Regions from separate parts of the Homo sapiens genome. Here region 1 is linked to region 2. The links are contacts of gene promoters, found by promoter capture Hi-C in blood cells and fetal thymus (Javierre and others, 2016). All regions are on one chromosome and are shown on one strand. Each heading gives the region's core, a stretch centred on a gene start or on the middle of the fragment in contact. The rest is flanking DNA. Distances are from core to core; before and after follow the strand shown. Region 1 holds the start of ULBP2 (UL16 binding protein 2). Region 2 overlaps LRP11 (LDL receptor related protein 11).

Region 1 (5,489 bases), core at 2,427-4,926, 110 kb after region 2:
CTCCCGTCCTTCATTTCCAACCATCCCAAGGTTTTCTCTGCCTCAAGACGTCCATGCTCGGGGCCCCCAGCCCAGTGGAGAAACCAGGAGCCCTGGACCGCGAGCGGCGGGGTCGGGGAGGCGACAACGGGAAGCCCCTGTTGGATCCTGGGCACTCAGGACCTAGTGCGCCATGGGCGCCCTCCCGCAGCAGCCCCAGGGCAAGGAGGATGGGGGTCCTCGTGGGGGCCACACTGTCGGATCCCCAGGGATCCGAGCGGGACTGTGACGTCTCCACACTGAGCCGGTGGCAAAGTCGCCGCGAGGATGAAGGAGGAACCTCGTGCTCTTCACCCCACCAGGCCCCGCATTTCCTGTCTCCTGCCACGGTTCCTTGTCGCGACCGGCGAGTCCTCCCAGGTCTTCGAAAGGCCGTTTTGTCCGGAGGCTGTGGACCCGGAGGCCCGGGAGCATCGGCGGGCAGCGTGGCACCCACTCGGCGGTCTCAACCGGGCAGGACCCGGGTCCGGAGCTCGGGCGAAGCGGGCGTCCTGGGAGGAGCGCGCAGAACCCGGAGAGGACGCAGCAGGGTGAAAACTGAAACCGCATATGCGAACTGTCTCCGAAAGTCATCTGCGGTTGAAATCAGAAATCACCTATAATATCCCCTTTGTGACAACACCGTTGGGTAAATATCTAGAACCGGTGCCTCGTCACTGCAGCAGCCCCGCACGCAGCTGCCCGGGTTCCCCTCCCCGGACCCTAGTGGCCCCCAACAGATCAGGCGGGCCCACCGTGTGACCGTCCCTGGGACTCTCGGCCCCACTCTTACTTACTACTTCACCTCCACATTTTCACCTGTTTCAGAATCAAAACCCTGAAAAGTCATGTGTGAAAGGCTCCCCCGCCCCTGCCTGCGTCCACTCTCATTGGCCACACGCCAGGGAGGAAAGTTTATTTGATTCTTCTCATCTTTCCAGGGAGTCTTTATGCCGTTTCAAACGAATATAAATACATATTCTCAATTCAGACGCGGATATTTTTGACCCTTGATGAACCCTGTCACCCTGTCCTTCAGGAAGCCTGTACCAGTTTCCCCTCCCTCTACGGTGGATGTTTCACCATCCTCTGCCCAAGCTGGGTCATCACAATCACAGACAAGAGTGTCGCCAGCATTGCCATCCTATGACATGAGATGCTTTAAAGGTGCATTACTTCGCACAGCAATTCTGTGTCTGGAAATCTATTCTACACAATGAAATTGTGATTCATGCAAGCACAGTTTCTGCAGCATTTCGCTTCTCTAAAAGTCACTGGAGACCGTCTGGATCTTCAGACACAGACACTGGTTACTTTTGTTGTGATGCAGTCATTCTATGTAATGTGCAGAGATAAAAAGGAAAAAATCTGTATGTGCAGGTATTGCAAGATCTTCAAAGTGTGTTATTTTGAGATAGAATCTGTGTTCAGCAGAGTGCCTATGGGTTTATATTTGTTTTAAAAACCAGAATTGATACATAAACACGTATCTACTGTTAGTAAGGAAAACAGTATTTCCATAACTTATTGCCAGTCTCTTTATCCATTTTAGGAAAAATCGATATACTTGAAAAGCCACGGTGGCAGGAATTGGTCATCACCCACCAGGATTCTACACTGCCCTACAGGTGATCCCAACTGAGGTTGCCAGAGGAACAGGATGTGGAATGCAGTCGCGTTTCAGAGAGGAACCTAAAGTCAGAATGGACCAGGGGTCTTGCCCTGACCTCTGCCTCTTCACCCAACCCCCACCTGGTCAGGCAGTGACCCTGGAGGGGCTGGGATGATCCTGGGAGAGCAGTGAAATGGGGAGCCAATGGTGGGAGCATGGTGAACATGGAGAGCCCAGACCCCACACCATCTGGGGAGGAGCTCATGTGATGCTGGGAGCACTGGGAAGACAGGGAGCCTGGACACAGCACTCACTGCTCCTCCCATCTGGGACAGGATTGGGGTGGGTGATGAGAAAAGTTTCCTGAGTAACACAGTTCCCAATCCTGGCAGAATAACTCACCCCAGTTGCACTCACAGCCAAGACCCACTCAGCCCCTGGACCAGTCTAACACAGGGCTTGGTAAATCCAGGAGTGAATACTACTGAGGCATCTGCCAGGGCATAGGAAACAGTAACAAGAGGACGGCTCAGCTAGTGGCTCAGACTATCTTGCCCCACACTCTCCAATATTGAGTAGGGAGTAAGCCTTGAGCCCAGGAGGTTGAGGATTCAGTGAATTATGATCGTGCCACTGCACTCCAGACTGGTGACAGAGTAAGAGTCTGTCACACATGCTTACACACACAAATTAAATTGTGTGAGCAGTTGTCACACAGGGAGATCTGGATGCACTCACTGTGGACCCAGGTCTCAGCGAGCAGGAGGGTGTTCTGTATTGTGGGAACATGAGGGACACGCATGGGACCGGGCATTTGTGCCTAGCTTTGAAGGGTGGCTGGCCCTTTGCCCAGGGCGAAGAGGCCAGCAGAATGCACTAACAGTGGGGAACCACCAGGAACTTTCACTTGAACCTGCTCTGCTGAGCCCCCTGTGCCATCCGTGGACCTGGGCGAGGGAGGCTGCTGAACTGGGAGCTCAGGGCCCATCTCTCTGAGGAGCTTTCTAAATCAGCAAGTGTGTCACAGGTTGAGATTTTAGGAACGGGGTCCTCCATGTTGTCCTCGATTTTAATAAGTAGACTCTTTTGGCCAATCTGCATTGGGCAGAGCAGGAACAAGACATAATTTTTTAATATATATTTTTAAAGCTGTTTAATTTTGGTAAAAACATAGAAGATAAAATTTACCATCTTGACCAGTTGTTTAGTGCACAATATGTTGTTTTAAACCTCTGGAACCCTGCCTGCTGCTCCTGTAATAAAACCTAGCCCGGGCCAGGCGCGGTGGCTAACGCCTGTAATCCCAGCACTTTGGGAGGCCGAGACGGGTGGATCACCTAAGGTCATGAGTTTGAGACCAGCCTGGCCAACAAGATGAAACCCCATCTCTACCAAAAATACAAACAATTCGCCGGGCGTGGTGGAGGGCGTCTGTAATCCCAGCTACTCCGGAAGCTGAGGCCAGAGAATCCCTTGAACCCGGGAAGCGGCGATTGCGGTGAGCCGAGATCACGCCACTGCACTCCAGCCTGGGCAACAAGAGCGAAACTCCGTCTCTAAATAAATAAATAAATAAATAAATAAATAATAAAACCTAGCCCGGACTGTAATCACGTCCACTGGGAACTGGCGCAGTAGTGGAGGGGACGCGATCAGGCCCGTGGCTGCGCCCAGAGCATGATAAGCCAGGGACCTCGCGGCGCAGGCGGAGGGAGGGAGAGCGTCGCGGACCCAGGCGGGGACAGGGAGACGCCGCCGCCGCTGAATATTCCTCTGCAAGTTTCTTCACCTTCAATAAAAAAATGTTGTGATGATTAAATGAGTCTGTCGTGGAAGGAACCGTGTCTTGGCAGGAGCCGGGCGGACACCCAGACACCAACCCGAAGGGGGTTGGGACAAAGGGGAGGGACGCCCGGGAAGGGGAGGGACACCGTCAGGGCAGCCAATCATATTTCTAGCCGCGTGACGCTATGACCCGCTTGACGCTATGACAGCGGGAAACGGGGGGCGCGCCCGTACATAGGGAGGCTTTAAAACCTTGAGGTGATTCATCTTCCAGGCTCTCCTTCCATCAAGTCTCTCATCCCTAGCGCTCTGGGTCCTTAATGGCAGCAGCCGCCGCTACCAAGATCCTTCTGTGCCTCCCGCTTCTGCTCCTGCTGTCCGGCTGGTCCCGGGCTGGGCGAGCCGGTGAGTTCGTGGATGGAGCCTAAGCCGGGCGGGGACCAAGCCTGGAGGGCTGTGAACTGCCGCGGGTTTCAGAGGAGGGGAGGCTTCTAGAAGGACGGGGGAGATCTCCCCTAACTGCGCCCCCGTTCAGTTCCGGTCGGCGGCTCCTTCCTGCTGGGTGCAGTCCCCGAGGCTGCTTCTTGCCCGGGAAGAGGCGAAAAGGAGCGGGGTGGAAAGGAGGCTGGCAGGAGGGTGGAGGGGCCGGAGGGCTGCAGAGAGCGAGGTGGGGCGGGGATCCCTGGTGCAGCCTGGCAGTCCCACCCGCCCTCGGGAAGGAAAAACCAGAGCCCCCGGAACCGGAGCTGGGGACAGGACAGGGGTGAAGCGGGATTCCACAGGGACGCGATCACAGACACCCCCACCAGCCACAGGCCTGCTCTGCTCTCACCCGCTCTCCACCACACAAACCCTCCAGCGCCCCCAGGGCTGCGTGCCCTTGAATTTTTCCCTGCACTTTCCTGTAGACACTCACCTGCACCCAGGGGCTCAGCAGACAACCGCCACCCCTCCCCTCACCATCCACTGCCACCACCCAGGTCACGTCCTCTTACTGCCCACCTCAGCCCAGCTGGTCACCCCAGAGGTCTCCCCATCCATGAAGGGGACCTCACCACCTCCTACACCACGTCGCACCTTCTGCCTCTTGCCTGAGGACACACCCCAGCAAACACACCCCAAGCTCCCCTCAGAACCTGTGCAGGGGGGATGGGAAGCACCATTTCCTCCAGGATGACCCTGGGAACTCTGGTGAGTAGAGGCACCCACTTCTGCCCTTGGGGCCCAGACCGCCTGTTCTTCCTACGGGGGTGTCAGCGTCATAGAGAATAGTCACTGTGTAGACAGGGGTCAGCAAACTCTTTCTAGAAAGGGAGGAAGGATGCCCTGTGATCTTTGCAGGCCGTGGGTTCTCCGTCTCAGTGTCCAGTCCTGTCCCTTTGTAGAGCAACAGCAGGCAATGGCAACCTTCAAATAGGGGGGACCAGATTTGGACCCTGTCCTAGGTTGCTGATCCCAGATCAGGGGATTACAATGTCCCAGTGAATAGTGCCCCATCCCCTATGGTGTCATCTCCAAGTGATGTCTCTGATGTCAGTTGGAGAGTAGAAGGTGGTCCTACCTTGTCTGTGGCTTCTGGGTGGTGTGGATGTGATGGGAGTGGGGGTCCCATAGTTGGGGGCTTATTCTCCCCTCCTTTGTGCTGAGTGGCATCCACGGGGACCATCAGGTACCCTCCCTGAAGCCTCAGGTGTGAGCTGAGGGTGAGGGGGTGCAGCCACGTGGTGTCCTGGGGATCGGGTCCAACTGCTTGTGCAGCTTCTTGGTTCCCGGTGGCCCTGCTCCTGCCCATCCCAGAAGAACCACCTGCGTCTTCTCACTGCTGGGCCTAACTTCCTAATGACCTAGAGGGTGAGGAGCCCACCAGTAATGGGCAGCTCTGAGGCCTTCAGCAATAGGCATCCCTAAGCTTCATTCCATTCTGGTGCCTTGTCATGGGCCTTCTTTATATGCATGGCAAAAGGCCCCATCTCTGCCAAGGTGCAGTACTCTACAGGAGCCACTGCTTAATGTTGCGATTTCCTTGCTGTGAGTGGCATTGCCTTGTCTCTGAATATTCACATGGAATCTCTGT
Region 2 (6,060 bases), core at 740-3,239:
ACTTCAGAAGGCGCAGTTGCCCCAGACTCTAGGATTACCCAGGAACCTGGCCCTGCCTTCTGGGTAACTGAAATGTGAATTTCTGCTGTTTACATTCCATGAAGGAATTCCCTATGATTTCCCAGTCTGCCTGATTCATTTTTCCTAGATTTCAGCATAAGGAACGCCATAGAGAAATGCTTCACTTTCACACATCCAATCACAGGCTCTAGCCAGTGTGGCGAATCGAAACAAAACAAAACAATGACATCACTTGCTTCTGGAAATAGTTACTTTTGGTAATGATCCTTCTGGAAGAGTTACATGTCTTAGGAGACCATTTTTCCTTTCTTCTGAATGTATTATGTTTACTATGCATGGCGACACATTCACAGAGGGAATTGGCAGCTGGATGGAAGCTGTTTTCATTTCATTTCCAGCTGCCATAGAGCATGCAGGCATGATCCGGAAGAAATACTTTAACATGCCCAGGAATTCTCAAGTTTCAAAAAGCAGATTCCACGTGAATGTGGATGTAGCACCACTTTTCTAGCCCTTTGTAGGGCTGGAAACCAGATTTCTTTCCTCGGGGTAGCTTGGATACAAGAGGGTGGAATTGTTAATGAATGACATGGACCACACAGAGAACAGGCCCTACGGCTATGACCATGGTCAACAATCCAGCCATTGTGCCTTTACATGCTGAGCAAACACAGGCCACACTGGAGCTCTGTGCTCCTCCTGCCCGGTGGCTCAGAGTGTACTGAGCATGCATTCGCTGGTGTAACTGAATGTCTGCACATACCTTCATTTTATCCTCAGTAACCTGTGTGGAATAAATCCCCAAAAGTGGGACAATTGGGTCAAAGCACACATAGTTTTGTTTTAGAGATGAGGTCTTACTCTGTCACCCAGGCTGGAGTACAGTGGTGGGATTACAGCTCACTGCAGCCTCGACCTCCCAAGCTCAAGCAATTCTCCCACCTCAGCCTTTCAAGTAGCTGGGATTACAGGTGAATACCACAAGCTGATTTCTGTAGTTTTTGTAGAGATGGGGTTTTGCCATGTTGCTAGGGCTGGTCTAGAACTCCTGGCCTTAAGCAATCCACCTGCCTTGGCCTTCCAAAGTGCTGGGATTACAGGTGTGAGCTGCTGCACCCGATCATATACATAGTTTTAAGCCTTCAGAAACTGGCCTCTGGAAGGACGTACTAATTGCATTGCTACCAGCAGAGTGTGAGACTTGTTTCTCTCTACTCTTAGAAACATTAATTATTATAATTCTTCATCATTGTCAATGTGATAGGTGAAAAACTACATCTCACTACTTTGCATGCTACACTGTTAGTATTAATCTTAGTATCTTGTTAACAAGTCTTCCATGAGCTAAGTCTTTTTTTTTTTTTTTTTTGAGACTGAGTCTCACTCTGTCACCTGGGCTGGAGTGCAGTGGCGCAATCTTGGCTCACTGCAACCTCCGCCTCCTGGGTTCAAGTGATTCTCCTGCCTCAGCCTCCTGAGTAGCTGGGATTACAGGTGCCTGACACTACGCCCAGCTAATTTTTTGTATTTTTAGTAGAGATGGGGTTTCACCATGTTGGCCAGGCTGGTCTTGAACTGACCTCGTGATTTGCCTGCCTCGGCCTCCCAAAGTGCTGGGATTACAAGCATGAGCCACCGCGCCCAGCCGAGCTAAGTCTTATTTGTCCTCACCACATGTCTGTGCAGGAAGGAGGCAGCAGTGAATTTAACTCATTCATATTTATTGTACTAGCTGATGGTCTTCTTAAAACCCAGGCATGTGTCATGAACAACAATGTACTTTTTTTTTTTTTTTTTTGAGATGGAGTCTCGCTCTGTTGCTCAGGCTGGAGTGCAGTGGCGCAATCTCAGCTCACTGAAAGCTCTGCCTCCTGGGTTCACACCATTCTCCTGCCTCAGCCTCCTAAGTAGCTGGGACTACAGGTGCCCGCCACCATGCCCGGCTAATTTTTTGTATTTTTATTTTTATTTTTTTATTTTATTTTTGAGACGGAGTCTTGCTCTGTCGCCCAGGCTGGAGTGCAGTGGTGCGATCTTGGCTCACTGCAAGCTCCACCTCCCGGGTTCACGCCATTCTCCTGCCTCAGCCTCCCGAGTAGCTGGGACCACAGGTGCCCGCCACCACGTCCAGCTAATTTTTTGTAGTTTTAGTAGAGACAGCGTTTCACCATGTTAGCCAGGATGGTCTCGATCTCCTGACCTTGTGATCCGCCTGCCTCGGCCTCCCAAAGTGCTGGGATTACAAGCGTAAGCCACCGTTCCTGGCCTTTGTATTTTTAGTAGAGATGGGGTTTCACCGTGTTAGCCAGGATGATCTCGATCTCCTGACCTCATGATCCGCCCACCTCGGCCTCCCAAAGTGCTGAGATTACAGGCGTGAGCCACCGTGCCCGGCCAATAATGCACTTTTAAATCTACTTATGGGTCTTTAACTTACATGAAATCAGAGGCTGAGGACTCTACTCTGGTGGTCTTAGGGACAGCAGAGGGGGAGGGCAGGGACAGCTACTGTCTGAACAGAAACTACAGGATGTGAGGGCTCTTTCTAACATTTTCAGTTTTGTTTTTTTCTTCCCACTTTCTTCACCCCAGGACTTTCAAAAAGTGTGTTTTTGATGAATAGTTAATAATACATGAAAATGCTCATGAGTAAGAAAAAAGTTTTATAAAAGCATTATCCTGCTTTTGTTAAAAATGAATAAATATGTATATGTGTATGAATAGAAGTAACCAGAAGAAAATGCGACAAAATTTTAATGGTGAGTTTTGCTAGATGCTTTTAACTTTCTTTGTATTTTTCTATATTTTCTACAGTAAATCCATATTATTTTAATAATTAGAAAAAGCCCTAATATAATAACTGTACATCTAATCTCTCTGCATCTGTGAAAGACCACTCTTTACATCTTCATAACCAAATCCAAAGGCTGATTATCAAAAAGCAAAAGGAGAGATCATAAATAGATTGGAAATTGGGTGCTGACTCCCATCAGCCGCAGGTGGCAGCCTGGAGCATTATTTTCTTTTTTTTCCCTCCAACTTCTAAGTTCCGGGGTACATGTGTAGGATGTGCAGGTTTGTCACACAGGTAAACGTGTCATGGTGGTTTGCTGCACAGATCATCCCATCCCTAGGTATTAAGCCCAGCATCCATTAGCTGTTCTGCCTGATGCTCCCCCTCCCCCTACCTCCCACCCTCTGACAGGCCCCAGTGTGTGTTGTTTCCCTCCATATGTTCATGTGTTCTCATCATTCGGCTTCCATTTCTAACGTGAGGACATGCAGTATTTGGTTTTCTGTTCCTGCGTTAGTTTGCTGAGAATAATGGCTTCTAGCCTGGAGCACTATTTTCAAAAGGATTCTGAGCTAAGTCCACATTCCCCATGGGACAGTGCTGGGACCAATGAGTGACACCTAGCATGGGTAAGGGCTGATGGGGTAAAGTATGAATGTCAGCCTATTTATCATTCCTCAGTGCTGGACAGCACCTTGGAGGACATCTGGTTGAAGTCCCTTATTAACAGATGAGGCAACTGAGGTCCAGAGATATGAAGTGACTTATTCAAGGTTCTAAAGGTAGAGCCAAGACCTGGGCTTTGGTCTCGACTCTACTTTCAGCTAATTTGTTCATGCTCACGTGGTTCTCTCCACCACAGTAATGTGGTAGGAATTCATCCATCCTGGCCTCTGATAACACAGATCTCTCCATAAACTCTTCACCCCTTCGGCAGTCCTGCCAAAGATGCCTGGTCTGCCCAACTCTGTTTCTTAGATTGTGATGCTCTTCTCCATACAAACTATCTTAAGCAGAGAAAACCCACTAAAACCACATCCAAAGGCTTGCATGTAGTGACCGATTTTACCAGTAGGTGGCAGTACCAACCAGGAATGGACCAAAAAAGCAGACACTTGGCAGCATTCTTAACCAAAACTCAGAAAGAAAAGCCCCTGATAGAATGCAATGTTTTGCAGACATATTTTTATGGAGGCACTTAAAATCTACAAGGCACATAAACAAGAGTGGAAGGAAATATAACAAATATTAAAAGCAGTTTTCAAAAGAGGTGGTATTTTAAATTCACTTTCCTTCTTAAATTATTTTGCATCTTCCGTATCTTGTACAATGAACAAAAATTTTTCTTAATAAACTTACTAAAATCATGTCAGGTTATTTCAATACAACTTATGCAGAGTCTGAAAAGACATTAGAAAAGCTTTTGGAAATGTGATAATCTCTATTTCTGTCTCATGTCACATAATCATGCAAATAATAAGTGTGTAAAAAATGATGGAATCCTGTAATACTTATTGATTGACTGATTGAGACAAGGTCTCACTATGTTGCCCAGGCTGGTCTCAAACTCTTGGCCTCAAGCAATTCTTCTGCCTCAGCCTCCAGAGTAGCTGGGATTATAGGTGAGTCACTGCATCTGGCTAAATTCTGTAATGCTTTAGTCATGTTAATGTATTTTAGGCCAGGTGCAGTGACTCACACCTATAATCCTAGCACTTTGGGAGGCCAGCCGAGGTGGGCAGATTGCTTGAGCCCAAGAGTTCAAGACCAGCCTGGGCAACATGGCAAAACCTTGTCTCTATAAAAAATACAAAAATTAGTCAGGCATGGTGGTCCCAGCTACTACGCCTATAGTCCCAGCTACTCAGGAGGCTGAGATGGGAGGATCATGTGAGTTTGGGAGGCTGAGGCTGCAGTGAGCTGTGATCGCGTCACTGTACTCCAGCCTGGGAAACAGAGTGAGACCCTGTCTCAAAAAAAATAAAAATAAATCTCATTAGCCTTACTTTTTTTAGTGATAGATTTAGTTAAATTGGAGGCATAACGTTGAATTACTAGCACATGCATCTCTTTCAAGACAACTTGTTTAAATGTTCACTTGCTTGGGTGAAGAGGATTTACACAAATACATAATGGTTATGCTGTTTCATCTCAAAACAACCTAAAATTTAACACTTTGGGTATTGGTTTACGTAAGCTAAGTGTTAATGTATTTACAAATAAATGTATTAGTGTCTCTGGAGTAGGTACATGAGTGTATTTAGTAAGTGTCCCTTACTACAAATTAGTGCAAATGTCAAGATTTCCCCCCGCCTTTCTGGCCAAATTCTTAATTTTAACTCTTATTTCAAGATACTTCCTTAACACTCTTCAAACATAAACTTAATTGTGAGCCAAGTTTGGCTACAGAAAACAAGGTTCTTCATTGAGAACCCACCGTGAATCCTTACCTGGCATCACAGGAATGATTTGACTCTCTGGTCCCCAAAAGGCGGAATGATTCCTCTTCTCTGTGTTTGATAATGCAGGTGGCTTGTTTGGGGCAGTGGCTTTCTGAGACTTTTCCACCAAGGAGTCACCCCCTGCATCTTCACTCGGCCCTGTGGTTCTTGGCAGGGCAGGACTAGCTGCCGTGTGGGTTACCATCTTGCGGTCCAGGCCCACTGAAGTGTGGAAGAGCTACTGTTAGTTGCTGGATTTCTTTTCTGAGCTTTAATACTAAAAACACTACATCTGCAGCTGATTTAAAATCACGGATATTTGGATGTAACAGCCCACTCATCTAAGACATGTCAGAGGACCATAAAAATCTATTCTCACGTTTTCAAATGGGTAATCTGTTCTTTCTTCTTCCAATAGTCAGCTTTCCAAATGTTACACATAAAGAAATGGACGGGGCCCAGCACGGTGGCTCATGCCTGTAATCCTAGCACCTTGGGAGGCAGAAGTAGGCAATCACTTGAGCCCACGAGTTCGTGACCAGCCTGGGCAACAAGGCAAAACCCCATCTCTACAAAAAATTAACAAAAATTAGCTGGGCATGGTGGTACATGCCTGCAGTCCCAGCTACTGGGGAGGCTGAGGTGGGAGAAACACCTAAGGCTGGGGAAGTCGAGGCTGCAGTGAGCCATGATTATGCCACTGCACTCCAGCCTGGGTGACAGAGTGAGAACTGGTCTCATAAAAAAAAGAAAGAAAAGAAAAAAGAAATGGACAAAGACTAAACGTAAACTTAAGGTTTTGAG

Evidence for each region. Contacts are between HindIII fragments. The CHiCAGO score rates a contact against its expected background, and 5 or more counts as called.
Region 1: the fragment with the promoter of ULBP2 here is called in contact with a fragment that was not itself captured in region 2 in 1 of 17 cell types (endothelial precursors); the score reaches 7.1 in endothelial precursors.

What each region holds. Positions count from the first base shown.
Region 1 is chr6:149,938,338-149,943,826 of GRCh38, forward strand. It overlaps ULBP2 (UL16 binding protein 2), which reads left to right and starts at 3,677. Exons shown (of 5, transcript NM_025217.4): 1 at 3,677-3,820. The coding sequence starts at 3,736. RefSeq lists enhancers at 1-323, 324-1,014, 503-802 and a silencer at 3,545-3,674. The HindIII fragment of the contact is 19,686 bases long and covers 1-5,322 here.
Region 2 is chr6:149,830,820-149,836,879 of GRCh38, forward strand. It overlaps LRP11 (LDL receptor related protein 11), which reads right to left. Exons shown (of 7, transcript NM_032832.6): 5 at 5,266-5,478. It overlaps RAET1E-LRP11 (RAET1E-LRP11 readthrough), which reads right to left. Exons shown (of 15, transcript NR_182438.1): 13 at 5,266-5,478. Among named protein-coding and RNA genes, the nearest start is that of RAET1E-AS1, 30 kb to the right of the region's middle. The HindIII fragment of the contact is 4,487 bases long and covers 1-4,233 here.